7 separate regions of the Homo sapiens genome follow, and all the other regions are linked to region 1. Evidence: promoter capture Hi-C in 16 types of primary human blood cells and fetal thymus (Javierre and others, 2016). All regions are on one chromosome and are shown on one strand. The core of a region is centred on a gene start or on the middle of the fragment in contact, and the rest is flanking DNA. Distances in the headings are between cores, read along the strand shown. Region 1 holds the start of CNIH1 (cornichon family member 1). Region 2 holds the start of TXNDC16 (thioredoxin domain containing 16). Region 3 has its middle 4.2 kb from the start of ERO1A. Region 4 holds the start of STYX (serine/threonine/tyrosine interacting protein). Region 5 overlaps STYX (serine/threonine/tyrosine interacting protein). Region 6 holds the start of PELI2 (pellino E3 ubiquitin protein ligase family member 2). Region 7 overlaps DDHD1-DT (DDHD1 divergent transcript).

Evidence for each region. Contacts are between HindIII fragments. The CHiCAGO score rates a contact against its expected background, and 5 or more counts as called.
Region 2: the fragment with the promoter of TXNDC16 here is called in contact with the fragment with the promoter of CNIH1 in region 1 in 1 of 17 cell types (neutrophils); the score reaches 6.3 in neutrophils.
Region 3: a fragment that was not itself captured here is called in contact with the fragment with the promoter of CNIH1 in region 1 in 3 of 17 cell types (M2 macrophages, M1 macrophages and neutrophils); the score reaches 9.1 in M2 macrophages.
Region 4: the fragment with the promoter of STYX here is called in contact with the fragment with the promoter of CNIH1 in region 1 in 1 of 17 cell types (M1 macrophages); the score reaches 6.2 in M1 macrophages.
Region 5: a contact is called between a fragment that was not itself captured here and the fragment with the promoter of CNIH1 in region 1, in 1 of 17 cell types (M1 macrophages). The highest score is 5.8, in M1 macrophages.
Region 6: the fragment with the promoter of PELI2 here is called in contact with the fragment with the promoter of CNIH1 in region 1 in 1 of 17 cell types (non-activated CD4 T cells); the score reaches 7.1 in non-activated CD4 T cells.
Region 7: a contact is called between a fragment that was not itself captured here and the fragment with the promoter of CNIH1 in region 1, in 3 of 17 cell types (M1 macrophages, M2 macrophages and fetal thymus). The highest score is 9.0, in M1 macrophages.

Annotation. Positions count from the first base shown.
Region 1 is chr14:54,439,526-54,443,004 of GRCh38, reverse strand. It overlaps CNIH1 (cornichon family member 1), which reads left to right and starts at 1,631. Exons shown (of 5, transcript NM_005776.3): 1 at 1,631-1,758. The coding sequence starts at 1,678. RefSeq lists enhancers at 1,288-1,347, 1,224-2,022 and silencers at 1,428-1,697, 1,738-2,097, 2,108-2,157. The HindIII fragment of the contact is 1,439 bases long and covers 1,055-2,493 here.
Region 2 is chr14:52,551,255-52,554,733 of GRCh38, reverse strand. TXNDC16 (thioredoxin domain containing 16) reads left to right here and starts at 2,229. Exons shown (of 21, transcript NM_020784.3): 1 at 2,229-2,418. GPR137C (G protein-coupled receptor 137C) reads right to left here and starts at 1,898. Exons shown (of 7, transcript NM_001099652.2): 1 at 1,143-1,898. The coding sequence starts at 1,586. RefSeq lists silencers at 1,429-1,628, 1,639-1,708. The HindIII fragment of the contact is 4,024 bases long and covers 652-3,479 here.
Region 3 is chr14:52,698,043-52,701,521 of GRCh38, reverse strand. No RefSeq gene overlaps it. Among named protein-coding and RNA genes, the nearest start is that of ERO1A, 4.2 kb to the right of the region's middle. The HindIII fragment of the contact is 2,803 bases long and covers 416-3,218 here.
Region 4 is chr14:52,728,562-52,732,040 of GRCh38, reverse strand. STYX (serine/threonine/tyrosine interacting protein) reads right to left here and starts at 1,875. Exons shown (of 11, transcript NM_145251.4): 1 at 1,510-1,875. The coding sequence starts at 1,566. It overlaps PSMC6 (proteasome 26S subunit, ATPase 6), which reads right to left. Exons shown (of 14, transcript NM_002806.5): 14 at 3,451-3,479. RefSeq lists silencers at 1,581-1,660, 1,731-2,190. The HindIII fragment of the contact is 7,384 bases long and covers 1-3,479 here.
Region 5 is chr14:52,761,707-52,765,185 of GRCh38, reverse strand. All of the region lies in intron 9 of STYX (serine/threonine/tyrosine interacting protein), which reads right to left. Among named protein-coding and RNA genes, the nearest start is that of GNPNAT1, 28 kb to the left of the region's middle. The HindIII fragment of the contact is 1,746 bases long and covers 792-2,537 here.
Region 6 is chr14:56,116,824-56,120,302 of GRCh38, reverse strand. PELI2 (pellino E3 ubiquitin protein ligase family member 2) reads right to left here and starts at 1,892. Exons shown (of 6, transcript NM_021255.3): 1 at 1,566-1,892. The coding sequence starts at 1,642. RefSeq lists silencers at 1,415-1,484, 1,775-2,034, 2,075-2,134 and an enhancer at 2,265-2,504. The HindIII fragment of the contact is 3,737 bases long and covers 306-3,479 here.
Region 7 is chr14:53,155,442-53,158,920 of GRCh38, reverse strand. It overlaps DDHD1-DT (DDHD1 divergent transcript), which reads right to left. Exons shown (of 3, transcript NR_110062.1): 2 at 2,348-2,678; 3 at 1,393-1,759. Among named protein-coding and RNA genes, the nearest start is that of DDHD1-DT, 3.8 kb to the right of the region's middle. The HindIII fragment of the contact is 2,163 bases long and covers 821-2,983 here.

The DNA.
Region 1 (3,479 bases), core at 382-2,881:
AGCCCAGAAAGGGGCTCCCATAGTGCAGCGGTGGGCTGAAGGGCTCCTCAAGTGCCGCCAAAGTGGCAGCCCAGGCAGAGGAGGCGCCGAGAGTGAGGGAGGGCTGTGAGGACTGCCAGCACGCTGTCACCTCTCAAGATCTCATTACCTTGTCCAGGCTGGTCTTGAATTCCTGAGCTCAAGTGATCCTCCTGTCTTGGCCTCCCAAAGTGTTAGGATTACAGGCATGAGCTGCTGTGCCTGGCCAAAAGTAACTTGATAATTTGCACACAGGTGCCACATAATCCTGGTGGTACAGGTTGTACTGTCCAATACACTAGCCACATTTTACTTAAAGTGATGTGAAATTTAAAGTTCAGTTCCTCAGTCATGCTAGACAATTTACAAGTGCCCAATGGCCACATGTGGCTAGTGGCTACTGTATTGGGCAATGTTTAGGTATCGAAAATTTTCACCATCACAGAAGGTTCTATTGCACAGCACTGGACAGACCCTGCTTCTAAACTATTCTACGCAATTTGCTAGGTGAACGATCTTTAATGCAAATCTAAACATGGTCTTCTTTTGCTCAAAAGCCTTCAATGATTTTCTCTTCCATCAGCAGCAATCAGTTAATAGAGTTTTTTTCTTTTAAAAATGGTTGTAATGGAAAGTTAAATCAATTTTGAATCAATTTTGTGTGTTAAGACCAGCATTAAAAACAAGTAGCAAAAGAGAGAAGGGAAAGTACTTATGGATCATTAGTACAGTTTTGTGAAATTTTTGTTTTGGTCATATCTATATTTCTTTGCCTCTATAACTAGATTTCCACCTCTTCATAACTTGATGTCTGTATGATATTCCACTGGGTTGCAATGAAAAAAATCTTTCTAGTTGTGTGTGGTGAGCAAAAAATTTGGGCTTATGGGATAAGAAGTCTGAGCTCCGTAATGAAGCATTATAAGGCCCTCTATGATCTGATCCCTTGCTAATTCATTTCTAAGTCTCACCACTGTCTTGCACTTAGGTTCCATTAATACAGAATTGCTGCTGGTTTCACCTGAGACACGAAGCTTTATTTTTCTTTTCTTTTTTCCATCTCTGTTGCGTTTCCTCATTCTGAACTGTTTCCTTGGACTGCCAGTTCTACCTTCTTTTTGCCTGGAGAACTTATCATCATCTAAGGCCAACTTAGGAAACACCTACAGCAGGAATCCTGCCTAAATGCTCCAGGGCGGGCTGGCTGTCCTTCTTTGACCTTTCAGAGCATCCCACACACATCCGTTTACGGGGTTATAATAACGTAATTATTTATTTAGGTGTTCATTTCCGGCACTATACTAAGTTCTTTCAGTGCAGGTACTATCTTATTCATCTTTGTATCTGAAGCGAGAAGCGCGGTACCTGTAACAAACTAGGCATTCATTCAATAAATATTTGTTGAAAGAATAAACGCAAGAAGGAAGGAAAAATCAATCAACAACTGTGCGGACAATGTCAGTGCAACGCAGACTCCGGCCATCAGAGGGCGCCGGGGCGGCTGGGCTGGTGCGCAGGCGCGCTGAGAGGGCTGGCGCCGCGGCGGTAGCGGTGGCGGTCGCGGCTGTGGCCGGGGGAAGTGAATGGTTTTACCCAGAGGGCCCTGCGCCGCCTTTCTCCGCTGGCAACGGCGCCGCTCCCCGCTCCTCCTCCCCAGCCATGGCGTTCACGTTCGCGGCCTTCTGCTACATGCTGGCGCTGCTGCTCACTGCCGCGCTCATCTTCTTCGCCATTTGGCACGTGAGTAGCTGGGGCTGGGGAAAGGAGGGCGAGGCGGCAACACAGCCTCTTTTCGCCCCGGGCCCGCGGTCCGGGCCGCCACGGCCGCCGGGGCTTTGCGCGTCGGGGATGCGGCCCGGCTGGCACGGGCCGCGCGGCGAGGGGTCTGGGGGCCGCGGGTACTGGAGGAGCCGGGGCGCGCAGTCGCCAGGTGGACGCGCCCGCGTTGCCTCGGCACAGGCCGCGCGCACCGCTACTCCTCCCCTACTGGATGGGGCGGCCGCGGTCCAGGCGGGCGCCCGCGGTTCCGCGCTGCGTTCGCACCGACCTCTGCCGGCCCGCGGCCCTGCATTCCCGGGGAGGATGTCGACAGCGCGGTGGGACGGCCGTAGTGTGAATGAAGTTTTCCGAATTTTTGTTAATACAGATTGACTTTCTTTTAGGGTTTCCACAGAACTGTGGCCAAAATGTAACCTACTTAGGGTGAATTTCCAACTCTACTTTTCAGCACTTGTTCGGTGCTCTTCAAATCAAATCACTTTTTTTCTCTTTTTCCAGATTGTTGTTTCCTGGTGAACTTTGATGCAAGTTCAATTGATTACTTTGTTGATTGCATGTGCGCGTTTCCCCCCCAAATCATACTTTGACCGCTGGAGTTTCAACAGGCAGCTTTCCAAGCCACCCTTATATTCAGGATTGCTTGATTTAGTAGAGGGAGTTTTCATTTGATTTTGAGATGCTCAGAAACCTTAAGCTTTTCTGGGGCAGTATTTATTTCTGTTACACACATCATCATCACTATTGCAGGGTGGAAGCACAGCCTTACTGGTCCCTCTAAGGAAAAAGTCGTAAGTTCCCTGTGACATAGTTCTACAGAGATAAGAATTTCTGTTGCTTTAGCACAAAATTAAAAGCCTTGAGAGCCTTCTGGAAATCATTCATTAAAAATTTATCTCATACTTGCTTCTCTTTTCCCCATATTCCAGTGCCTTCTGGAATGTTGCTTTTAATTTGAATGACCGCGTTCACTCTTACGTAGATTTTAAGTCAGGTTTCATCATGCCAGTAACAAGGATTTCTATGAAACATACGGAGGGGCAGAATGATTAAACAGCAGCAGCGTCTTGTGCAAAAAAGTCTCGAAAGTGGAAGCATATCACAAATCCATTCCTTTTTGCTAAGCAGTGTGATTATGTTTACAATTATTTTAGGACCTGACTGCTTATTGTAATCAGGAATACTTATGTAGGCTATTAACTGTGTCGGAAATAACTGCTACCTCAGAATGCTTGTCAGTAGGAGCAGTAATTTGAAGAGCATCTTCAGCCCTGCTTTGATGGAAGAACAATACCTAAGATAATTTGGGATACAGACTAGCTCAACCTTAGTAGGCCTCTGATGAAAATGTGTGGTTCCATGGCCGGGCGCGGTGGCTCACTCCTGTAATCCCAGCACTTTGGGAGGCCGAGGCGGGAGGATCACGAGGTCAGGAGTTCGAGACCAGCCTGGCCAACATGGTGAAACCCCGTCTCTACTAAAAATACAAAAAAATTAGCCGGGCATGGTGGTGGGCGCCTGTAATCCCAGCTACTCGGGAGGCTGAGGCGGAGGAGAATCACTTGAACCCAGGAGGCAGAGGTTGCAGTGAGCCGCGATGGCGCCACTGCACTCCATCCTGGGCGGAGACTCCGTCTCAAAAAAAAAACAAAAAAAAAGAAAGAAAGAAAGTGTGTGGTTCCATT
Region 2 (3,479 bases), core at 980-3,479, 1.9 Mb after region 1:
ACGTCATTTTTTTTTTTTTTACTTTTGCTTGGAACTACATTAATTCCATCACCTCCAAAAAAGCCTTTGAGAGGATTAGCTGCATAGGCCAATATTATTCTATATTAGTCTGTATTAAGCATATGATGTCACCTTGCTTCCTCCCCTCCTCAAGCTTTTCTTTTGGTGGGAAGGAGGACTTTTTTGGGGGAAAGTCTTAAAATATTATGGCTTAAATACCACAAGCTGACACACATGATTGACAACCTTACACTCCCAAACCTGTTTGAAATGGGTCAAATACCTAAGCGCTGCAGAACAATGCAATCCAACCAGCAATTCCCCATAAAAGAGAAAGGGGGTGTGATTAGGTTCCAGATATTAAGCAAGTTATTGCAAAAACAGTTTGGTGGTTTTGTTTCTGCAATAGGCACAGGTTAAGCTAGTATTTTTTTCTCTTAATTAGCTCCAAAAAAGACTATGCTAATAGGAGGTAGGATAAACCGCTAAAGCACGAAGCAACTGGGGCAAACATTAAGGGCTTTATGGAGGTCCTTATCCTGATCCTCAGCATTGGTTATTGATCATCAACCCTGCTGGGGAACTATCGAACGAAATTTATGTGAGGCTTATCGAGCCACAGGAAAGGAGATGCAGGAGGGAATATAAGCTTCTAATAAAAGAAACGCAGCAACAATAGCAGAGGAACAGCTCTGCCTGGTGACGTAATGGCTGGCAGCAGTCCAGCTTCAGCAGAGCTGCTGCTACCTCAGCATCCAACCTCCCTCAACACAGTCCGGCTTCGGCAGAGCCACCGGGGCTGCTACTTCTTGCGATGCCACTTTGTTGGTGCCACCAACGCCTTACCTCGGAGGGCCAGAACACCGAACAAAGGGTTCGTTCCGTTGCTGTTTTAAGTTGTCAGACACACACACTCACTCACTCACCCCCTAGCCCGAACCCCTCAGTAATCAAGCCAATCAGCCACTTAAGTTTAAGGCGAAAACACTGGCTCACACTCCAGGTGTGCCTCAGTTTCCCCAGGCTGGTTTCCAGTCCGCCTCTCGCTGCCCACCCCCCGCCCCCGCTGGTCCTCAGCGGGAGTTGATCCCGGCGGCCCCGCGCACCCGCCCGGGCCCCGCATGCCGGCCCTCCCGCCTTACCTCCGCCAGGTAGAGGTTGAGGAGACAGAGCGTGGAGAACTGGAGACAGGAGGGGAAGCAGTAGAGCAGCCAGTGGGGGAAGAAGTGCAGGTGAGCGGGCGGCCGGAGCAAGGGCAGGGAGCCGCTGAGCGAGAAGGCGGCGGAGAAGAGGGTGGTCCTGAGCGCTGCCCACAGGAGACAGAGGAAGAGGCAGAGGCTCTGGTAACTCAGCCGCCGCTCGCGGTACAGGAGCAGCCGCCACAGCTGCAGGTAGGCAAAGGCGAACAGCGCGGCGTAGAGCAGGGCGTGCAGGACGCTCAGCGCCAACTGCACGGAGCCCGGCACCGCGGCGCCTGAGGCTGCAGCGACGGCGCCTCCGCCTCCGCTGCCCCCGCCGGGCGTGGAGGGCTCGCGGCCGGCTGCGGGGGCGGCAGCGGCCGCCGGACCCGGCACGGACACCCTCATGAGGGGGCTGGGGGCCGGGCGAGCGAGCGCGGGAAGGAAGGGGCTGGACTCGGAGCCGCCGTCGAAGGGGAGAAGGACTGCCCCCTTACCCCCCACCCACCCCAGCCTCTAACCCCAGGAAGCGCCGTGACGGGACCCGGAGTCCAGCGCAAAGCAGCCGCGGCTCCCCCGGACCCCGCCTCCTCTTTCCCCCCACCCCCCGGGGGTCTCGGCTCCTCCTGCTGCGGCTCGGCTCCGTAGCTGCAAAAAACAACTCTCGGCTGGAGACAATCAGCTGAGAAACCCGAGCATTTGAGGCGCTCGCTCCGCACTGTGGGCTCGCGCCGATTGGCCCAGGCAGGCACGCCCCCTGAGCGCCGCGCTCGGAAGGCCACGGGCCGCAGGACCCGTCGCTCGAGGGCCCCGAGATCTGATTGGGCGCGTAATTTCCCTACTTTCTCCCGCCCCTGTACTTCCCACCCACGCTGCTGATTGGCCCTGCTACTGCACCGCCCGTTCGCGCCGGCGGGAGGACTCTGTAATCGTCTGTCACTCTCGCTCCGCCCACCACGTTTCCCATTGGTTAGAGAGTGCCTCGCGTAGGGAGCACGAGGAGAAGGAGGAGCTTCGCAGGTTGTTTTTTCCCAGGAGGCCGACTCCGCCGAGTCGGTGGCGGCTGCAGGCTGGGAGGGAGAAGTGCTACGCCTTTGCAGGTTGGCGAAGTGGTTCCAGGCTACCCGGCTAGTCTGGCACGGCCCCGTCTTCTGCCTCCTCCTCCGTCGCGTGGCGGCGGGAACTGTTGGCCGCGCGGCCTCGGGAACGGCCCAGGTCCCCGCCCGCAGGTCCCGGGCAGGTAGGTGACAGCGCTGGCCCTTCAGGCTGTGGGCTCTGCCTGCAGACCCGGGGATTCAGACGAAGCAGCTTTCTGTAGCCAGGGCTGCACTGCACAGCTCCGGAGTCTGACTTAAGACACCCGTCTCTGGGGCACCGAAGGGCCTCACCTGGAGCCTCCTGAGGGCATTTTGCTTTCTCTTTTCGCTGCATGAACGGCGGGAAACACCGGAGCCCTTTGTGGGTCGAGGGGATGGAAAGGGGCGACGGGGAGAATCGGAGCTCTTAAGTGAAAGACCCTTTCCTCCCAAGGCCAAGGGAAATGTCTCTTAAGGAAGAGTAGTAGTAGTATCAGATGGATGTTGAAGCGATCTGTGAGCAGGGGGAAGCTGGTTCTTTCAAACGTAGAATTTGGGAAGATGCTCTGGGCTTAAGTTTTGGGAAAAAGGCAGAAACAGACTTGTAAGTATGATGATTGCCTGGAGAGGAAGTAGAATATTCTGTACTGTTTAAATTCCACATGTATCGAAGCCTTGGACCTGTGTATGGTAGATGGTGGCGCTATTCCTGGGCCTGAGAGAGAAAATACATGCTGTGTTACTGCTGTGAAGAACCGAGGAATAATCAGATCGACTAACGTATATTGGGCCGGCACATAGTTGTTGACTTTTTTTTTTCCTATTTGGAAATAAGATTAGCAAGTAGTGCAAAATTAAAAGGAAATAATTTGTTTTCTTTAGAATACACAGCACATTACGAATTCAGTATCCTTGTGAAAGACATTGCTACGTTTATTGGAGCAACAAAGACCCAGCTTTTCTTACCTCACCATCCTTTGTCCTATGCTTTTTTTTTTTTTTTTCCTTTTTTTCATGCAGGGTCTCGCTCTGTCGCCCAGGCTGTAGTGACAGTTCACTACAAACCTCCACCTCCTGGGCACAAGCAGTCCTCCCACCTCAGCCTCCCAAGTAGCTGGGACTACAGGCACTGGAGCCACCATGCCCGGCTGATTTTTTTTTTTTTTTTGGTAGAGACGAGGTTTCACTATATTGTCCAGGCTGGCCTTTGTCATATGCTTTGCCC
Region 3 (3,479 bases), core at 568-3,067, 1.7 Mb after region 1:
TCATTGGGTTGGGCAATAGGAAGGCCATGTAAAGAGGAGTTTCAGGGGAGTAGAGCTGGAAACCAGACTGCATCATGGGTTAAAATGTGAGTGGGAAGTTGAGGAGTGAATGATAAGTGAAGTCAGTGACTGCATACAGCTTGCTTTCAGGAATTTGAGGTAAAGAAGGTGAAGATGTTACGTGTCATGTCTTCCCCCTTCAGATGATTCTAAGCACCTTGAGACAAATGTCTAGTAATGTACCACGTGTGCAACCATATTCAGTAAATATTAATGACAGGAATGATTCTAATAAAAATATCAGCACTAAACCCATTAGGTTTTTACTTAGCCTTTCTTTGTACTAATTTATTTCCTTTAAATTGTTTTCTTCCAGTCTATTCAATGACAGAAATTGTATGGGTACTGAGAAGCTTCCCACAGAAATCCCCACATACCATTTTGAGACACTGGACTCAAGCCATTTCCTGCTTTGGTCATAAAAAAAAAAATAGTCGCTGTTATTTACACAGTAATCAGAATTCCATCAGGAAATGCTGTGTGCATTAAATCTAAGTCATGTTATTGTTATAATCACTAGTATTAGAAAAACAAGTTTGTGACCTTGTTCATCTCTAAAAAATTTAATGTTGTTTAGCAAAGTTGTAATGAATGGGAAGTTGGGCTTTCAGAAATCAAAGGTTGATCTATGTACCCTGTGGGTGCTCTTTAAATAGTTAATGAATGACTAATCAGTGATTTCATGGCCTCTAACACAGGTGAGACGATTGCCTGAGCAGGTATATTTGAAGAAGCAAACTCATGCAAAGGGAGTTTCCTTCTGGCCTGAAAGATTCTCATGGACACTTCAGTGATATTCACATCACACACATAAAACTGTATTTACTTATTCTAAAATCGCTTACAAATCTGAAACAAAACATTATAATTATCTAGACAATAAGGTAAAAAAAGTGGATACTTTTTCTAAGTTTGCTAGAAATTTATTCTGGGAAAGAGTTTGAGTTTTATGGAAAATAATTTCTATCATGAGAACACTGACATTTTTAAGCTCCCCCAGGTTACAGGTCATTGCATTAGGGTAAAATGTTAAGCTGATTCATATTCAGATTGCTTCCTTCTAAAATCATAGGCTTTATTAATTTCCTCTTTTCTTATTGTGTTTCTCATTTTTGATGGCCTAATCTTCATTTATTAGTACTGTGGCCAGTGAAAGATTTTCATTTATTCCACGAACATGTACAAAGACAAGATCCTTGTTAAGGATCTCTGGGAGTCTCAGGGACATTTGAAACACAATCCCTGCTCAAGAAGTTTAAAGATGTTACAATTCAGTGAAGAAATATGAAGTAGAAAATATCATAAAAGATTATATACTAATGCTGAAATGAACATGGGAGTGCAGATATTTCTTTGACATACAAATTTTATTTTTATTTTTAAGACAGAGTCTCGCTCTGTCACCCAGGCTGGAGTACAATGGCATGATCTCAGCTCACTGCAACCTCCGCCTCCCAGGTTCTAGAAATTCTCTCACCTCAGCCTCCCGTGTAGCTGAGACTACAGGCACACACCACCATGCCTGGCTAATTTTTTGTATTTTTAGTGTAGACGGGGTTTCACCATGTTGGTCCGGCTGGTCTTGAACTCCTGACCTCAAATGATCTGCCCGCCTCAGCTTCCCAAAGTGCTGGGTCAGGCGTGAGCCACCATGCCCAGTCTGACACGCCAATTTTAATACCTTTGTATATACACCCAGAAGTGGGATTGCTGGATCATATGGTAATTCTATTTTTAGTTGTGTGTGTGTTTTTTTTTTGTCTGCTTTGTTTTGTGAGATGGAGTCTCGCTCTGTTGCCCAGGCTGGAGTGCAGTGGCGCGATCTCGGTTCACTGTAACCTCTGTCTTCCAGGTGCAAGCAATTCTCCTGCCTTAGCCTCCAGAGTAGCTGGGACTACAGGCACGTGCTGCCACGCCCAGCTAATTTTTGTATTTTTAGTAGGGACGGGGTTTCACCGTGTTAGCCAGGATGGTCTCCATCTCCTGGCCTCATGATCTGCCTGCCTCGGCCTCCCAAAGTGCTGGGATTACAGGTGTGAGCCACCGTGCCCGGCCTATTTTTAGTTTTTTGAGGAACCTCCATACTATTTTTCAAAATGGCTGTACTAATTTACATTCCCACCAACAGTGTACAAGTGTTTCCATTTTTCCACATCCTTTCCAGCACCTGTTATCATTCATCATTTTGGCAATAGCCATTCTAACAGGTGTAAGGTGACATCTCATTGTGTCTTTAATTTGCATTTCCCTGATGATTAGAGATATTAAGCATTTTTTTCCTATACCTGTTGGCTATTTGTATGTCTTTTTTTGAAAAATAACTGTTCAGAACCTTTGCTGCTTTTTAAAAATCAGACTATTTTCATAACATTGATTTGTTTCTTATACTCCCATGTTCATTTCTGCATTATTTACAATAGCCAAGATATAGGAACAACCTAAGTGTTCATCGACAGATGAATGGATAAAGAGAATCTTGTATATATATGCCTACTATACAGCCATAAAGAAGGAAATTATTCCCAGTACTTTGGGAGGCCGAGGCGGGCGGATCACGAGGTCAGGAGATCGAGACCATCCTGGCTAACATGGTGAAATCCCGTGTCTACTAAAAATACAAAAAAATTAGCCGGGAGTGGTGGCGGGCGCGCCTGTAGTCCCAGCTACTTGGGAGGCTGAGGCAGGAGAATGGCGTGAACCCGGGAGGCGGAGCTTGCAGTGAGCGAGATCGTGCCACTGCACTCCAGGCTGGGTGACAGAGCGAGACTCCGTCTCAAAAAAAAAAAAAAAAAGGAAATTCTGTAATTTGTGACAATATGGATTAACCTAGAGGCCATGATACCAAGTGAAATAAGCCAGGCACAAGAAAACAATTACCACATAATCTCACTTACATGTGGAATCTAAAAAAGTTTATCTCATAGAAACAGTAGAAAGGTAGTCACCAGAGGCCGGTGGGCAGGGAGGATGGGGAAAGGGGAGATGTTGGTCAAAGTGCAAAGTTTCAGTTAGACTGCAGGAATAAGTTTTAGTGATCTAATGCACTGCATGGTGACCACAGTTAATAAGAATTGCAAAATTGCTAAAAGAATAATTTTTTAATGTTCTCATCAATGAAAAATGAAAAGTTGGTGAGGCAATGTATCTGTTAATAAGCTTTATTTAATCTTTCTACAATGTATGCATAGATCAAAACATCCCATTGTATCCTATAAATATACACAATTATTATTTGTCAATTAAATATTTTTTAAAAAGTACATACTAAGTTCCATGGATGTCTCTCCAAGTGTAGGAACTGGACCTTATACATCTTTGTATCCCAAATGTCAAGCTCAGCTTGTCACAGAGTAAGTTTACTGAATTGAAATCATTGAGAGACTGGAACTGGGTTAGGAGGAAACCAGGAAGACGACTTA
Region 4 (3,479 bases), core at 626-3,125, 1.7 Mb after region 1:
CACTTTCGGAGGACAAGGCGGGAGGATCTTGAGGCCAAGAGTTCGAGACCAGCCTGGAGAAAAAACCCATCGCTACAAAAAAAAAAAAAAAGAAAAATTAGCCCGGCATGGTCCCAGCTACTCCAGAGGCTGAGGTGAAAGGATGGCTTGAGCATGGGAGTTCGAGACTGCAGTGAACCGAGATCACACCACTGCACTACATTTTGCAACAGTGATAGTCACAAACAAAGTCTCTACTCTTAAAACAAATGTAATTGTCAAGCATCAATACCACAAGAGAGCCCTCCAAACAAAAATGTGAACCTAGGCCGGGCGCGGTGGCTCATACCTGCAATTTCAGCACTTTGGGAGGCCGAGTCGGGCGGATCACAAGGTCAGGAGATCGAGACCACCCTGGCCAAAATGGTGAAACCCGTCTCCCCTAAAAACACAAAAATTAGCTGGGCGTGGTGGTGCGCGCCTGTAGTTCCAGCTACTCAGGAGGCTGAGGCAGGAGAATCGCTTGAACCCGGAAGGCGGAGGTTGCAGTGAGCCGAGATCGCGCCACATTGCACTCCAGCCTGGCGACAGAGCAAGACTCCGTCTCAAAAAAAAAAAAAAAAAAAAAGTGAACCTCCAATGAAGATATTCAATAGAATAAATATTCGGAATAAATTGAATGGTCTCCTAAAAATAGGGCTTTATTTTTCCCAACTACTTTAAAGGTATTTTTAACTAGCGATGTTAGATTTTCTTTCTTAATCCTACTAAAGTATAGCTGAGTATCTTCGTCTTGTTAATTTAGCCTCCAGAAAATTCTAATTTAGTAGTCTGCAATGCCGTAAAATGTTAAACTAGCAACAGATGAAAAAAAATCCGAGTAGAAACAGCAGGCAGGGATCTAAGGTGGAGTAAAAATAGCCACAAATTAGAAACCAGGAGAAAAGGTATATAGTATTTTACTTTCAATATTAATTTTCCTCCAAAGGTCAAGATTTCTGATTAAGAGTTCTCAGATTAAGATGAGCTAGCTTTGAGACACTTTGTTGTGCGGGTCATAGCTTTGTCTAAAAACAAACAAAAAACTTTGGGAAACTTTTCGAAGGCGCGCTTCCAAACTTCAGGCGCCGAGTCTATTTCACATGTGGGGCCATGTGTCCCACAAGTGAATCGTTTACACCACAGATATTCCTCAAAAGGAGACTAAACCAACTTCGCTCTCTTGTTACTTTGACAATAAAAGAGGAACCTTACTCCAGGTCAGTCCTGGATGCCAAGCCTAGGGACTAAGGGATTGCTTTTCCTCTTCTCAAATGTAAGTACACCAGACGCTGCCCCTCCGCGGGGTCTGGAGAGGACGAGCAACTCAGTGGGGATTGGAGCCGACCGCTCGGCTTCAGAGGTCCCGGGACGCCCTTAGGAGGCAGGGCGCCCGTACAGGTGGCGGCTAAGACGGTTGGGGACTGGGGTCGCCCCTCGGCCGGAGCCACAGGGAGAGGCCTGTGCGTGGCAGCCACGGGAGCGACTCACCTCGGCGTCTTCCTTGCACTGTGGAAGGGAAGGGAACTCCAGCTTCACGTCCTCCATGGTGCTGGCCCGCGGGCTGGTGGGTGGGGTGGGAGAGTGTTACACAGCCGGCCGACCCTCGGGCTGGCTGCGGCGGCGGAAGGAAGGAGGGCCGGCGGAGCGGAGGGCTGACAGGAGGGCGGCGGGATTACAACTAACACACGCAGACTACAGGGTCCCAGTGACTCCAGCAGCGGCGGCGGCGAAGACAGGGAAGAGGAGGGTCGGGCGTCTTACACCCGGCCGCCATGCCGCTGCCGTCTCCCTCCCCCAGAGTCTCCGTACCCCTCAGGCCGCCCAGGATCCAGCACAGGAACCAGCCCGACAACCGTCTCCCCGCCTCCTTCCCGCCCCCTCCACCCGCGTCGCCTCAGCCAATCCCAGCCCACGCTCGCCTTCTGCCCGCCCTCCGCCGCCGCCAGGTGTCAGCGCGCCACCGCCCTGCTCCGCCCCTTCGCTAGAGCGCAGACGCTTGGGGGTGGGGGGGGCGGAGCCTCGGATGCTGCTAGGCCACAGCTCACCCGGCGTGGAGGAGGCGGGGCTGCGGTGGGACAGGACGAGTGAAGGTCCTGGGAAAGGCAGTGGGGCGGTCCGAGCCAGCTCCGCCCTTTCCAGACAGGACGTAGAGCCCTTCTTTAACATAAGAACAAACAGGCAAAACAGGCTACCCACCAGTGGCATCCGAAAGGAAAGCTATAGTTTCTCCCCTCTCAAAATTCTGCGCAATCTATGCTGAGTTTATAACCAAATGACTAATAAATGAAGAGTTCAATTTAAAATCACGTGGTGCCATACAGAAAATAAAATACCCATCACCTTTAAGCAAAGAATTAAACGGCTCAATTTAAAATTTTTTAAAGTATTTTAAGAGTACTTGAAAATACAACTCAGTTTAGATTACCTAGAAAATATCAAGAATGGCAACTAGAAAAAAATCAGAAAAAGGAACTGATAGCTGACTCAGTAAATTGTATATAATACTGTAAAATTTCTTCCATTATTATATTTTGAAATAAAAATAATAAACCAGATGGCTTTCAATATCTTTTAAAAGGAGTTTGCCAGCCTGAGCAAAATAGTAAGACCCCCCTCTCTAAAAAACAATTTTAAAATTCCCTGGGTGTGGTGGCGTTATGCCTGTAAACCCATGGTGAAAAGATTTGGGCCGGGCGCGGAGGCTCACGCCTGTAATCCCAGCACTTTGGGCGGCTGAGGCGTGTGGATCACCTGAGGTCGGGAGTTTGAGACCAGCCTGACCAACATGGAGAAACCCCGTCTCTACTAAAAATACAAAAATTAGCTGGGTGTGGTGGCGCATGCCAGTAATCGCAGCTACTTAGAAGGCTGAGGCAGGAGAACCGCTTAAATCCGGGAGGCGGAGGTTGCAATGAGCTGAGATAGTGCAATGGCACTACAGCCTGGGCAACAAGAGCGAAACTCCATCTCAAAAAAAATCAAAAATAAAAAAAGAAAGAAAGGATTTGTACACCAAATTGATTCTTTAAAAAACCACCGCCAGCACAAAGGTAAAAGGCAAGATAGTCACTCCTTAACTAAATGCAAATTATAAGTGAAAAGATCACATAGATATTTGACTTAAACCTCCCCCTACATTCTACTTTTTGTCACATAAAATGCACTGCCAACACATAGAAATAGAACTGTACAATAATTTGAGTATGAGATGGCTAACTTGACCACTCCATTTTCTATTTTAACTGTTCATCTTCTAAAATTATAAAAAGGCACATAATATCCTGCTAGGAAGTTTTTAATTTGAAGAATTATTGTATAATTAGCTAGGTCATGTATTTTTGGTTCTTTAGTGTTTATGAAACTGAAGTTGTCTTTTCTTTTCACCAGCATCTTTAATAATTATTGATGCCCAATGATGATTCCTTTGTGTACTTTGTTATAGCTTTTATTGCCAGATG
Region 5 (3,479 bases), core at 415-2,914, 1.7 Mb after region 1:
CAAAATCACTAGGGAAAAAGTATTAAATACCTATTTTATATCTAGCCACTGTCATTCAAATATAAGGGCAAAAGAAAAATATTTTCCAATATGCAAAGGGATAGTTTCCATGGGAATATAGTTTCCATGAACTATTCTTAATAAAGTCCAAGAGTTTAATAAAGACACTGGAACAGGTAATAGGATTGGCTGAATCCTATTTAAATGTAGGATTAAGGGCTGGGCGCCGTGGCTCACGCCCGTAATCCCAGCACTTCGGGATGCTGAGGCGGGTGGATCACATGATCTCAGGAATTCGAGACCATCCTGGCCAACATGGCAAAACCCCGTCTCTACCAAAAATACAAAAATTAGCTGGATGTGGTGACATATGTCTGTAATCCCAGCTACTCGGGAGGCTGAGGTGTGTGAATCGCTTGAACCCAGGAGGCAAAGGTTGCAGTGAGCCGAGATCACACCACTGTACTCCAGCCTGGGCAAGAGTGTGAGACTCTAACTCAAAAAAAAAAAAAAAAAAAAGGAAAAGTAAATAAATAAAACCTTAAAAATTATGTAACAAACATAAACACACCAAAAAATTTTAAACTATAGCAGAAGGTTAAAAAAAGGATTCATTTAAAACAGAAAGCATAATATGAAATAATAATAGATAAGATTGTATCTGTCATTTTCAGTAAATGAAAGTGGGTTAAATTCACCTATTAGGAAACAATGATACCAAATCTAATAGCAAAACTCAATCCTAGACTACACTGAGGAAAAGCATCTAAAATCAAGTGATTTAGAAAGCTTGAAGGAAAAGGAATGGGAAAACTCAAAAGGTAGCAAGCGAACAGAAAGAGTAGGATTCACAATATTAAACGAGGTTAACTGCAAGGTAAAATAACCGAAATTTGTCCAGGCACAGTGGCTCACACCTGTAATCCCAGCACTTTGGGAGGCCGAGGTGGGAGGATCATGAGGTCAGGAGTTCGAGACCAGCCTGGCCAACATGGTGAAACCCCGTCTCTACTAAAAATACAAAAATTAGCCGGGCGTGGTGATGCATGCCTGTAATCCCAGCTACTTGGGAGGCTGAGGCAGGAGAATCACTTGAACCCAGGAGGCAGAGGTTGCAGTGAGCCGAGATCGCACCACTGCACTCCAGCCTGGGCCACAGAGCAAGACTCTGTCTCAACAACAACAACAAAAAACCCTGAAATTTAAACAGGGTACAACTAAAATAAAAACCTAACTTGAATTTTTATGTACCAAATAGTTAAGTACAGAAAAAAACTTGCAGAACCAAAAAAGGGGAAATAAAGAAAAAATAAACACAATATAGTAAAAGATTTCAATTCACTGATTTCAGCCCAAGACAGATCAAGTGGACAAATACATTTAACTTTATCCCCTGAAAACAGAATGCATCTTCTTTTCAAATGCCCATAAAATTCATGAAAACAACTACATATTAAACCACAAAGAAAACATCAAAAAATACAAGTACTACAAAACATTCTGTGATTACAATGTAATAAAACTAAATATGAACAAAAATAAAAAATTTAAAACCCAGTCACCTATACAATAAAAAAAATCTCAACACATATTAGATAAAAAATGAAACCAAAACTGAAATCACAGAATATCAAGCTATAACATAAAAATAATGCAGATGAGAATCTGCAGCATGCGACTAACACAATGCAAAGAGGATAATTAATAGCCTTGAATTTTTGAAAGAATAAAAAGAAACCAAGTTTTCAACTCAGGAAATTCACAACAGCAGCAGCAAACAACACTAAAGCAAAGTACCAAGGAAGCAGAAATTAGAATACAGAAAAACAACATGGACTAACCAGATGAAGAAAAAAAATAATAGAACCAAAAGATATTAAAGTACAAGATATTATTTTCCTTAATTCTATGTAGAACTCTTATGAAATCAATGATTACACAGAAGATCATAAATACATCCAAAGTGACCTGAGGGGTATCAGAAAATCAAACCAGGCCAGGAGCAGTGGCTCACATCTGTAACCCCAGCACTCTGGGGGCCGAGGCGGGCGGATCACCAGAGGTTAGGAGTTTGAGACCAGCCTGGCCAATGTGGTGAAACCTCGTCTCTACTGAAAATACAAAATTAGCCAGTTGTGGTGGCAGGCACCTGTAAATCCCAGCTATTCTGGAGGCTGAGGCAGCAGAATCACTTGAACCCAGGTGGCAGAGGTTGCAGTGAGTTGAGATTGCACCACTGCAGTCCAGCCTGGGCAACAGAGCAGAAGACTCTGCCTCAAAAAAAAAAAAAAAAAAAAAAAAAAGAAAGAAAGAAAGAAAGAAAGAAAAGAAAAAATCAAACCGATACACCAAATGAAGAATGTTGTCTGAGAACTGGTCTATTGTCAAAATATATGAATGAATGAAATAATGAATAACTGAATTAGATAAAACATTATGGTCAGATATTTCACAGGTGCCATATACTAATGCATTAAGAGACAAGTAACTCCAATCTAATTTAAATTGATCCATGGCACAAAGAGAAATGGAAAGCTTCCACTAAAAAATGAGAACACTGTGACAGAGATAGTAAAACCAGAAAAGGATAGTACAGAAAAAAAAAAGAAAGACAAACCAATTTACTATTTAACTGATTCCAAAATCCTGAACAAAAAGATTAGCAAATACAATCCAGCAATACATTAACAGAACAGTCTATCATAACCAAGTGGGATCCATTGCTGGACCAAAAGGATGATTCAATATTAGGAAATCCAATCTAATGTGATCCAGTAACTCAAGTCACCATATTAACGGTTCAAAAACTAGAACTAGCCATTCCATAAGCACCTTAAAAAAGAAAACTTCAAACTTCTAAAGGACATATCAGAATTTGGTATAAAATAAAAATGATATTTCAAATCGGTAGGCTATAAATAGATTTCCATAATATAAAAAGAGCTCTTACAAACCGGTGAGAGGAACACCAACAAATGATCACAAAAATCTGATAAAACATTTTTGGGCCAGGAGTGGTGGCTCACGCCTGTAATTCCAGCACTTTGAGAGGCCAAGGTGGGTGGATCACCTGAGGTCAGGAGTTCAAGACCATCCTGGGCAACATGGCAAAACCCTATCTCTATTTTTTTTTTTCTTTTGTGACGAAGTCTTGCTCTTGTTCCGCAGGCTGGAGTGCAATGATGCCATCTCGGCTCACTGCAACCTCCGCCTCCCGAGTTCAAGCAATTCTCCTGCCTCAGCCTCCCAAGTAGCTGGGATTACAGGCACCTGCCACCACGCCTGGCTAATTTTTGTAATTTTAGTAGAGACAGGGTTTCACGATGTTGGCCAGGCTGGTCTCAAACTCCTGATCTCAGGTGATCCACCCACCTCAGCCTCCCAAAGTGTTGGGATTACAGGCGTGAGCCACCACACCCGGCCATCCCATCTCTATTAAAAATACAAAAATTACCTGGGCGTGGTGGCACGTGCCTGTA
Region 6 (3,479 bases), core at 643-3,142, 1.7 Mb before region 1:
TCAAGTTCACAGTGTTAAACACACTGAAGCCAGCCACACAAACAAAACCAAACTCCACAAGATTAGGTTGGGCTGAAGTTACATAAGACAGACTAAACTGCGGCTTTTCTCCTGTCATTCCTCCCGCCTTCCTGTGAACCCTGATATTTGTCTTTGAAGTGCAATTAAGATGTAGGTGAGAAAAACACTTATCTGCAAACAGCTTCAAAATAGGTAATGAGATTTCCAATACCACCCCCACTTAATGCACTAGCAACAAAGTCAGGAAGACTGGGAAGCTTTGAGTTGTGCGGTGTCTGGAAGCTTCCCTCAAAAACTCCTCTCTTTAAATTATTTTTAAGTCAGCACTTACTTCAAGGCACTCACTTATCAAAACACGTTTTGCAAAGTTCCCTGAGTCTTCCCACAGCCATGACTCCTCATATGTGTGCTAAGCCTACCTATCAGCGCCGAGGATGTTCTGAATACAGGTCTTTCAACGCAGAAGGACAAAAGCGCGGGTTCCCAGAGCGACACATCCAAAGGAAAAAATAATCCTTTCTTCAACACTAAACCCAAGTTGTTCCTTCCCCCCAGTTTCCTGCACTTCCCCCTTCCCCCTCCCCTTTCACTGCCCACTATATCCAGTTTTAAGCCCGCAAAGCCTCTCTCCTGGCTTATTAAGGGTAAACAATAGAAATGTCACAAGGAAACTCAGGAAGTAGATGAAGTCTCTAATTGCTGCCGTTTAACGATTGTACATAATTACTATCTTCAAGATGCGGCTTTCACCAGCAGAGAGGGAGCCGAGGCGGGCGAGGCTGGCGAGCTCCCCGCAGCCGGGAGGGCATCAGCGAGGCCGGGACCGGGGGGATACGGCCCGCGCCCCGGTGCCAGGCCCCGAGCAGCCGCATCCTGTCCCTCCCCTCCAGAGCACTCCAAGCGGGGAGAAGCGGAGGGCCGGCCGGCCCGGGTCACACACAGTTCACTGCTCTCGGGCTGCGGCGGCCCGCGGCGGTCATCGGAACAATTTGCAAAGCGCAGCCGGGGATCCCACAGCCCGCGGCGGCCCAAGCTCACGGCGCCGCGCTCGGAGTTCGGGGGCGCGGGTACCACGGTCCGCGAGGGAGGTGGGAAGACGGGGCTCCGCGCCGGCCGGCCTCTCAGCTTCGGGAAGCGACCCCGCGAAGCGCCCGCGACCGCGGCGCCTCACATGGAGTCCCTGCCCGCCCTCCCCGGCCCGGACGCGGCGCGCGGGAAGTGGAGCCCCTGCCCCCGCCCCCACGATACGGCCGCGGACCCGGTGCCCGGCGCTGCCCCCGCTGGGTCGCCCGAGTTCTGGCCACTTCCTCCGCCGCGTCCTCCGCGCGGACAGCGCAGCCCGGCGTCCGCCGCAGCACCCCGAGCGCGCGCCGATGGGGCGCATCCCGCCCCCGCGCCGCCGTCCGGGCCCTGAGAGCCTCTCCTGCCGCCCCGAGCGCCCCGGCGGTCCCCAAAGAGCACCGAGCCACCCCGCCAGCCCCGCTCCAGGATGCGGGCGCTCCCCGCCCGCGCCGCTGCCCGGGACCAGGGACCCCAGGACTCACCCGAGCACCACCAGCTCCCCGTATTTCACTGGCTCCTTATTGGGGGCGCAGTGTTCCTCCTGGCCAGGGGAAAACATGGAGCCCCGCTCGGCCGCCGACGCCGCCGCCGACGCCGCCGCCTCCGCCGCGATCCCCGCCGAGTCCGCGCCGCCGCTACAATCCCATCCCGAGAACGGGGTGAGCGCGCCGGGGAAGGGCACGGCGGCGAAGGGGGCGCGGGGCGGCCAGTCCCGCTGCTGCTCCGTCGTGGCTGCGCGGCTGCTCCGCCTGACTCCCCGGAGCTCCGCGCGCCGCGGCCGCCCCGAGTCAGAGCCGGCAACAAATGGGACCCGGCAGCAGGGGGACCTGCCTGCGCTGAGCGCCGCCGCCGAAGCCCCGCGGGAGGGAGGGAAGGAGGAGGGAGCGGGCGCACGAGAGGCTGGGGCCGCGCGGGGGAGGCGGGGGCCAGCGCGCGGGCAGGTGGGAGCCGCCCCGCCCCACGCAGAGCCAGGCGCCCGCCCCCGGCCCGCGGGGCGCCCCCTCCCCCGGCGCGTGGGGCCGTCCGCGCCCACTCCCCGCCCCCCTCGGCCCGGCGGAGGCTCGGCCCCTGTGTTATGTAAACATAGAGTAAAAGGGAAAGGAAGTTCTTAAAGGAGCAGCTCTGTTTTTTTTCCTCACTTCCTTCCCCAAACTTAGAGCGCGGGGTCCTCAGCCCTCGCCGCCTGGTTCTTCAGCCGCGAAGGCCCGCGGGAGATCCTGGAAACGAGCGGCCGCGGTTCCCAAGCCCACGTTTTCCTGGCTGGAGTTCGATGGGATTAACTTCCTCTCCGAGTAGAATAGCGCTCTCTCGACGTCACTGTGTCCCGGCTTACAACTAGAGGTGTCGCACACACCCACTTGGGTGCCTCCCCTTCCAAAACCAAGCAGAAAGGCGTCTAGAAAATTAGAAGGTTTTGCCAGTTGGTGCTGGCGTAGAGGACGTTTCGAAGGCGCTTGGAGCACCCCACCGTTGCACTGGATGTAGCTACCCCGGCTTGTGGTCAATAGAGCTCCACCTGGCTTTTGGGGGGTGGCGGGGGGATGGGGGAAGAGTTGTTTTTTAATCCATACTTTATCCACTTTTCCTGTGCCTTCTTTCCATCCCCTAATACATACAAGGGGAAATTACCTGGGTGGACTTTTTAGTGAACGTAAATGTTCCTTTATGACCGTGATTTAATCAATGCACTGTTTGCTTTCTATTCTTTTTAAACTAGTTATTGCTATGGCTTTAAAATATCGTAGACTGTATAGTTTTACTGACTGCTGTTTTTCATCATACAGGATTTTATTGTTCTAACATTTATTAAGCACTCATAATGTGCTAGAAACTCTACATATTATTGCGAGTCATTGCCTCTCAACACTGTTAAATATTTAAAGAAATAAATACTGCAGAAGCTACCCTGTGTATAGTGACTGGTTGGCTATGACCCGAAGCAAAGGGCTAGAAAAAATAATAATTGCATCTGTAACCTTCCATTCCGCTGTGCTGCACCCCTTGTGTAACATTCTCTGACAGGTTATTACGGTAGTGACATGATGTTTCTGATAATTTTACTTCAGTTAGGAACTGATTTTTTTAATTGAGGTTTTAGAAATAAATTATTCCAAAGTAACTAAAGCCACACCACTGGTAAGCCAAAAATAAACTTTATTAAACAGTTAACTTATTTCAGCTAACTATAGAAATTCTGTATTTCAAATGAATATTAGTTATTCTGCATATATTACGTATTCTCTATATTTTTTATATGTAATAAAAAATCTGTTACAGTTTTAACCAGCACTCCTTCACTAAAGGGATAAATCATGTCTCCTCCCCAGTGTTGATGTAAATTTCTTTCAAATTTCTGCTGGATTAATGTTGTCTTCATGTACTCTGTGCATCTACTT
Region 7 (3,479 bases), core at 653-3,152, 1.3 Mb after region 1:
TGAAGGACTATTTGTGAGTTCTTACAGATGATTAAGAATTAGTATGAATCTGATGTTCTAAACTTTAGAAGTGAAGGAGTCACAAATGCAGGGCCATTGTTACTAATTTCTCATATTTAAAATATATGTTGCTGAATCTTGAAGATAAAATTTCTGAAGAATTTTGCTTTTCTACCATGCCATTTACATTTATTAATGGTATTATCCTAATGGCTATCTAGTATGGTTCAAGTAACCCAATGGGAGACCCACAAAAAGAATTTGGGAGCTTGTGAGTCTAGAATCATATATATGTATATATAATGATTATTATATGTATGATTATTATATATATATATATATTTTTTTTTTTTTTGAGATGGAGTTTCGCTCTTGTTGCCCAGGCTGGAGTGCAGTAGCATGATCTCGGCTCACTGCAACCTCTGCCTCCTGGGTTCATGTGATTCTCCTGCCTCAGTCTCCCGAGCAGCTGGGATTACAAGCACGCACCACCGCGACCAGTTAATTTTGTATTTTTAGTAGAGATGGGGTTTCACCATGTTGGGCAGGCTGGTCTCGAACTCCTGACCTTGTGATCCACCCGCCTTGGCCTCCCAAAGTGCTGGGATTACAGGCGTGAGCCACCGTACCCGGCCTAGAATCATATTTTATTCAAGCTGAAACTTTAAATGAGTTGCTGACTTATGATGTAAGGATAAACATACTTTTTTAAGCAGCAGTTGCAAAAACAGTAAATCAATTCTGCTGTTCAGTCTTTTAAATGCTCAGCAAATTACTGACAGTTACATTAGTGGAAATAAATCCTTATTGGAACAAAGCTTCTCTTTTCTTTCCTTTTTAACTTATATATGACAATACACATACGCAAGGTGCTGCCTCTAAGTCTTGCTCAGCACCATATTATGATTATCAATTACTTTTTATTGAAGGCTCATATGAGTCTGTGAACAAATATGTACTTTCAACTTACCTGTGGAGGTAGGAAAAAATCCTAGAGCGCAGAAGTCATTAAATACATCTACAATGGGTGCATAATGTGGGCCTCACAGCAGCCAATAGCTATGGCCCAACTCACTTTTCTATAATGAAAGGGCAGGAAGATGGCCAAATCTGTCTGATATAAACAAGCTGATGAGGATTTTGTGGCTGCCTCCACAGAGTATGCATCAATGTTGTATTGATTTATACTTTCTTTCATTTGAATATATACCTTCACCACCACTGACCTTTATTTCCAAAAGGAATAGAAAACATTTTTATAGGGTTTTGGTAAGTATGGTTTTGTGGATAGGCCTCTTATAAATCTTTAAATAAATGCATTTCATAATTCTAAATTTTAAGTGTAATTTCAGTTAAAAATAAAAACACAATAGCACTAGACAATAAATATTTGTTGAATGAATAAATGGAAGGATTAATGACTTTATTCATCATGAATCCCTACGTTATTTCTGCCCACCTTGCTTCCTTTGGATTGTAATTTGATTTTGTTTATTGATCTGTCTGTAGGGAGAGAATGACCCCATGGTAGTGATGCAGCTATAGTGGCATTACAATTATATTCCTCATAGGAATTTAAAAGTTAGCATTTTGGTTTTATTTATAGACACCACTAGACTGTGAATGCTTCACTGTAGAGCCTAGCACAGTGCCTGAAATGTCCAGCGAATGTTCCCTGCTTCAGTCTAGGTTGTTGTTTCATTTGGTCAGGGCATCAGATAAAACACTCTCATCTTTAAAAACCAGATAAGTAGTAATCCTAAAAATAAAAAGTGAAATAAAATTTAAGTTGTGGTGGATGGCTTATCGAACACGAGATACAGCAGATGGGGGCATGGTTATGTCTGCCCTCTTTCTTTCATTCTAAATAGGGGTCTTCCATCATACACTTTGGATGAAGCTATTTCAAGTGCAGGTGTGGGATGTTGGCTCAGGATAAATTACTTGGCATCAAGCATTCCCTAATGTTACAAACGTGAAGACAGGTTAAAATGAACAACATGGTGGCTTGTGCCTGTAATACTAGCTACTGGGGAGGCTGCAGCAGGAGGATTACTTGAGGCCAGGAGTTCAAGGCTGCAGTGAGCTAGGATTGGCCTACTATACTTCACCCGGGCAACAGCAAGACCCTATCTCTAAAATAATAAAATGAATAACAGGGACAAACTTTAAGAAAAGAAGAAAAGGGAAAGACAGCACACAATTGCACGAAAACATCTTTGAGACGCGGGAGGAGATGGCCGTTGTTACCAGATAGCTCTTGCCATATGCCTAATGGGGACAGGAAGGTGGTAGGATACACAGACGAGCTGTTTTAGTCTTTTGTAGTACAAACCAACTGGCTTACCTTTTTTTTTTTCTGCACACCAATAACTCCGTCAGGCTTGATTCCACATGCACCTGTTTCTTGCGGCAGCATGGCCCAGTAATGCCAGAAGTCTGAATCAATCACACTTATTTGCCTTATGTGAAAGAGGCCTTGTCTTGCGTAATTATTAAAATACAATGGAATGCTTTACATAGAGCCATGGAAGTTCAGATAATGCTGTGTCCATTGTACACACTAATGATGTAGAGTGGTGAGGAGCCACCTGACACCTATTCTGGCAGGTGGGGACTAGAATAGATGCCCCAACCCATCTCCCTCTGGTCAGGATCATATTACCTGAGAAGATGATCTAGAAAACAAAAGGAGAGCAGGAACAGGAGGCATTAGATAAAACATGACTTTTTAAAGCAGAAAAGTTGAGAAAAACAACATCATGACCTTTGCCTTGCTATGATGGCTAGGGAGTAAAAAGGAAATAAACACATGCAGTCACATGAAGTTAGATATTGTGCTCTCAAATATCTTCTGAGCACTGTCAGCCTGGGACCCAGTATATGGGTCTGCCATAGCCCAAGCTCACTTCCAAGGGGCAGAAGCAATCTCAGCCCACAAATGTTGATTGACATCTCCCCTCAACAAGGTCTAGACCAAGCTTGCCCAACCTGCAGCCCATGGGCCATATGCAGCCCAGGATGGCTTTGAATGTGGCCCAACACAAATTCATAAACTTTCTTAAAACAGTACGAGATTTTTTCGTGATTTTTTAAGCTCATCAGCTATCATCAGTGTTAGTGTATTTTATGTGTGACCCAAGACAATTCTTCTTCTTCCGATGTGGCCCAGGAAAGCCAAAAGATTACACACACCTGGCTCTAGACCAAGATAACCAGGTCAGCAGAGAATCTAGGATTCCCTTCTTCTGCCACCTGGGTTGTGTTGAGAATCAACATTTCCTTCAAAAATGATCACTCTACCTAAAAGGAGTGTGGCATTTCCCCAGTGAACCACAAGAGGATAATCTTCTCAAAATAACCAAATAAGCACACTTAAAAGTAATAGAAACATTCATTCAATGCAAAGCAGAAAGTACTTTTTTTTTTTTTCCAAGACGGAGTCTCGCTCTGTAGCCCAGGCTGGAGTGCAGTGGCGT